2 separate regions of the Homo sapiens genome follow, and region 2 is linked to region 1. Evidence: promoter capture Hi-C in 16 types of primary human blood cells and fetal thymus (Javierre and others, 2016). All regions are on one chromosome and are shown on one strand. The core of a region is centred on a gene start or on the middle of the fragment in contact, and the rest is flanking DNA. Distances in the headings are between cores, read along the strand shown.

Region 1 (2,560 bases), core at 36-2,535:
TCCTCAGACATACAATGATCATTATGTAAATATAAGGGAGGCTTTCTGCAGCAGGCGCTTAAATTATGAGGAATGAGTTCATTTCGCAACATACAGGTAGCGCAGAAGGGTACCTACACATCTATACGATAATTAAGATGTTTCTTTCCATTTTCCCAATGGTTGCTACAGACATTTAAGGTAAAATCCATTCTTCTTGTCTCAGGTTTTCATTTTCATTCATTGAATCACAAATAACATTCTCTGCAGTAGAGAATACTAAACTTATTAATGCCCAAATGTTTGAGACCTTAAAAAGGAAAAAAAGGCCGGGCGCGGTGGCTCACGCCTGTAATCCCAGCACTTTGGGAGGCCGAGGCGGGTGGATCATGAGGTCAGGAGATCGAGACCATCCTGGCTAACAAGGTGAAACCCCGTCTCTACTAAAAATACAAAAAATTAGCCGGGCGCGGTGGCGGGCGCCTGTAGTCCCAGCTACTCGGGAGGCTGAGGCAGGAGAATGGCGTCAACCCGGGAAGCGGAGCTTGCAGTGAGCCGAGATTGCGCCACTGCAGTCCGCAGTCCGGCCTGGGCGACAGAGCGAGACTCCGTCTCAAAAAAAAAAAAAAAAAAAAAAAGGAAAAAAAAAAGCAAACTCTGGTAAGCAGATTTTACATGTAAAAGGAATAAATTTACTTGCTACAACTGTAGAAGCTGCTATTTAGTCAACAAAGATCTTAAGAGTGTCAGCAAATTCAATTGCTATGGGGCCTCTCTCTAGGCCACTGGCTGTTTTAAAAATGGATAAATAATCTAGAAACTTTATTTTCCCAATTCCCCGGCTTCTAAATTTACGGTATGCAACGAGTAACAATGCAATTTACAGCTTCCTAAACATTTCTTCATTGCTCTTCGAAACCACTCTAGGGGGTAGCTGAGCGCGGAGCACACTTATTTCCATTTGAATGGAGGGGCGGAGGCTAGTGACGCAGGAGTGTACACACAGGTCAGGGTTAGTCTGCACCACACCAGCACGCCAGACCCCGATGTATCAAATCCGAGGTCAGGCAGTGGTCCTGAAGCTGAGCAAATGTATGTGGAAGCAGGCTCAGGCCTAGCGGCACTTCGCCTCCTTCACACAGACCCCCGCCGGACACCGCGCCCTGCCGCGACTCACTTAGCAAGTCTCGCGGATTAGGTTTGATCGCATTCGGCCCTTTCCCGGATAGCTCGTCGCGGATACTTCTCACAGCGAAGCAGCAGCTCCCAGAAGCCGTAAAGCTATCCCAGAGCGAGGCACCATACGTAAATCTTCCGCGTCGCTACGTGACGTCAGTGCGAGCGACCCCGGGCCGGCTGCGTGGAGCTGGCGCTGCCTCTCCTGAAGCCGAGGCGCTAACTTGAGTGAAGAGGTCTATAGGCTTTTTCACTTTTGGTTATCTGCTCAGGCGCTCCTTGGGGTCGCGCATGGTCTCGGACAGGGTTTGCAAGGACTTCGGAGCTAACCAGTTTGGAGCCATAACCCTTTCGTACTTGCCAAAAAACTCTGGGCAAGACTCTTGAATTTTGAGCCGCAGTATTCTCGTTCATAAGGTGAGAATAAAAACATCACCTAGGGTTGATGTGAAGAGAGATGAAATCATTGTGAAATAGGAGAGTTATTGCTTTCAACCAATGACATTTTCTGGAAACGTGCTGGAGATATGGCTGCAGCAGTGACGCCTGCAAACGACGTTCCTGTCATCATGATGCTGACATTTTAATTGGGAAGCAGATTGAAACGATAACTAAGGAATTTGACAGGAGCATTTAGTAGGACCTGTAAAGAAATTAAAGCAGGTCCGAGGTGGAGTTTTGTAAACTATATGCCTGAATAGAACTTTCTGTTTCCAAGGGAATTGTTACAGTTGGAGACATGTCAATTATTACAATAAGCGTCAAGGGCAATAACAGAGGTGTTTTAAAGCTACTGTCTGGTGGCAGAATAATCGGGATTTTTTTGTTTGGGGGGTTTTAGCCGGGGGAGGGACTGCGAAGACAGCTCTGCATCAAAACAGTACGTGAGAAAAAAGCATAGGACGCTCTCGCAGCCGTAGTTGTTGGTGACAAGAAACTGTGCTTCTAATCTAAGCAAAAAATATCTCCACATGCCAACTATACTTTTCCAAGATGTACCATGGACTACTCAAACTAACACAGCCTTATTTATGTATTTAGGTTGGAAGTGGGCAAAAGTGTATCTTGTCTATGTTTCTATGTTTCTACGTTGGGATGACACCATCATCCACCCAGCCAGACAGTTATCAACCTTCCCACTTTCTTAACCTCTTACATCCGATTAGACCCTATGTCCTCTAGTTCTCAGTCTTGAGACCAGCACCCAGCTGGCTACATCAGAATTGCCGGTGGTGATGTTTTAGAAGATTCCAAATTCCTGGACTCCATCCCCGGAGGTTCATCCCCTAGTTTTCTAGTGAGGGGCCTAGAACCTGCGTTTTTTAAGTGTCATGTTCATCGCCATTACTGCTACTTTAGTTCAGGTCTTCTTGGTCAGCTTTTTCCTAAAACGTTTTCAGTTTTG
Region 2 (2,560 bases), core at 25-2,524, 1.0 Mb before region 1:
ATCAGGCCACTGCACTCCAGCCTGGGCGACAAAGCGAGACTCCATCTCAAAAAAAAAAAAAAGAAAAGAAAGAAACAGTGAAAGGGTGACTCCCGCAAAAGAGATCCAGGATCACTCAATAAGGCCTCATTGTCCTAGCTAGAATGCCAATTTAACCATCCTTAATCACCTGGCTGTCAAAGGACGGGTAAAGCCTTAGGTGTCTTTTGCACAAAGAAGAAAACTTTAAAAGCTTGCTCATTTAACAGTCCAAAGTCCCACTAACCTACCCACCCTGATGTTTATTCAACACACATATCGGGTATCTCATTGGGGTAAGGGTGATGAGTTGGCTACCTCTCCCCTCTTCCACTTCTCACCCACCACCCAATCTCAAAAATGTAAGCTCCAAATAAGCAGTGACAATTATCTTGTAAACCCCTCTGTCCTCAGTATCCAAAATGATGCCTGTCATACAGTAGGCATACAATACTTCAGAATTAACATTTTAAAGACTTTTAAATACTTAAAAGAGCTAGATTTTCACTTATAGTAAATAAAATCAGTGTTGTTTAAAATCAGTGAGTCAATAAATAGCATTGTCACTACCTGAGATAAATGTTACAGGAAACAGCTGATGGAATTTAAAAACTTTGCTTCTAAGGATTGGAACCCTATTGGTAAGCGACTGCTGTTTTTTAAACACAGTTTTTACCACTATGATTTTTATTATTATGTGCAATTACTTGTCTACATGTTTACATTATACACATATCCAACACATTTCCAGCATCCTAACATAATTATTCATTTTTGGGTGTGATCTGCCTTCTTTATCCATATATACACACATTCATATTAATATAGTTGTTTGCAATCATAGCTATGTATTTTTATGGTTGGTTTTGTTTTTCACTTCACATATTGTTTCCTAAACAGCTTTCCCTGTTTCTACACTCGTCATAATAATTCTCAATGACTGCATGATATTCTAACATGTCAGTGTATCATAATTTAGCTAAATAAACTAAAATGCAACATGTAAGGTTTCCATTTTTTGCTTTGGAGATAATGTTGATAAGAGTGGCAGACACGTGGTCTCGTCTGTTTTGCGTCTTTGCTTCTGATGAATCATATTCTGGAGCTCCATCTAAGAATCCCCATGCCCAGATTAGGGACTGCGAGCGACCACCCAGCGCCAGCGCGACCAGGACCAAGGACCTCCGCGGCTGAGCGGCGAGTCCGGGAGGGGCTCTGCGCGTCCCCGCCCCGCGCCGCGTCACCGACGTCCCGCTAGGCTGAGACCGGTGCGCCGCGCGCTAGTGGCCGCTCTTCCGCGGGCTAGCGGGCGGTGGGGGCGCCAGCAGCGCGGAAGGCGGGCACGCGGGCCATGGCTCCCTGGGCGGAGGCCGAGCACTCGGCGCTGAACCCGCTGCGCGCGGTGTGGCTCACGCTGACCGCCGCCTTCCTGCTGACCCTACTGCTGCAGCTCCTGCCGCCCGGCCTGCTCCCGGGCTGCGCGATCTTCCAGGACCTGATCCGCTATGGGAAAACCAAGTGTGGGGAGCCGTCGCGCCCCGCCGCCTGCCGAGCCTTTGATGTCCCCAAGAGGTAACCGCGCCCCGGTCCCGAGCCGCGGTGGTCAAGGCGCTGAGAGTTCGGGGCGCCCCGGCTCGCGGGCAGCCAGCAGGGGGCAGCAGAGGCGGGACCCGGCCTGGGAGGCCCTGGCGGGTTCCCGGGCGCAGCACGGCGCTCCCTCGGCCTGGCCCCGGCCATGCCCCGGCTGCTGCGTGGCTCCGGGGAGCAGTGCCCGGGTGTCCGCGGACGCCGAGGGAGAGCGGAGCCGCTTGCACTCAGCTGGAGGAATGTGAACTGGTAGCCGCACGGAGCCTTTCCCTGTGGGAAATGGCAACGCATCCGAATTTAGGCCTGGTCATGCGAATTTAGGCGGCAAATTGAAGTGCCCCTTGCCCCAAATTCTCCTTTTTCCCGTACCCTGCACTCCAGTGGCTCATACTCTAACTTGAGGTCACCGGGAATCATTTGTGGAAATGAAGTTAGGCCGGCTCTTCGGCCTCGGCTTCCCCCGTTTCTCTTCCCAACCCTTGCAGTGGGGACAAAGGACTGAGTCGCCCTAACCTGCACCTTGGCAGGTGCCCCTGGGGAAGGTGGCCCAAGGTGCAGGTCATAGGCAGGCCCGTCCCGAAGCTCCATTTGACTTTCGAAAAATTCTGTAACCCAGTTCAGCGAAGGATTAAATCGTCAGGTTTTAAATAGAGACCTGTTATAATTTTCTTCTTCTCCTTTTTCCACTTTAAATTCAGGACATAGCTGGAAAGAGTTGGCCAAATACTATTCGAGATGGTAGAAATAGAACAGTGCCCCTTAAGATGCATCTTAGGCCGGGCGCAGTGGCTCACGCCTGTAATCCCAGCACTTTAGGAGGCTGAGGCAGGCGGATCGCTTGAGTTCAGGAGTTCGAGACCAGGCTGGGAAATATAGTGAGACTCCGTCTCTCCTGAAAATACAAAAAATTGGCAGGGCTTGGTGGCGTGTGCCTGTAGTGCCAGCTACTTGGAAT

What was found. The method cuts DNA at HindIII sites, captures the fragments that hold promoters and counts their contacts. A CHiCAGO score of 5 or more calls a contact.
Region 2: the fragment with the promoter of SRD5A3 here is called in contact with the fragment with the promoter of AASDH in region 1 in 1 of 17 cell types (total CD8 T cells); the score reaches 5.8 in total CD8 T cells.

What each region holds. Positions count from the first base shown.
Region 1 is chr4:56,386,206-56,388,765 of GRCh38, forward strand. AASDH (aminoadipate-semialdehyde dehydrogenase) reads right to left here and starts at 1,286. Exons shown (of 15, transcript NM_181806.4): 1 at 1,157-1,286. RefSeq lists enhancers at 704-1,211, 1,181-1,550, 1,212-1,718, 1,581-1,630. The HindIII fragment of the contact is 3,410 bases long and covers 1-2,560 here.
Region 2 is chr4:55,344,968-55,347,527 of GRCh38, forward strand. It overlaps SRD5A3 (steroid 5 alpha-reductase 3), which reads left to right and starts at 1,275. Exons shown (of 5, transcript NM_024592.5): 1 at 1,275-1,590. The coding sequence starts at 1,370. RefSeq lists an enhancer at 996-1,756 and silencers at 1,208-1,377, 1,588-1,857. The HindIII fragment of the contact is 3,550 bases long and covers 231-2,560 here.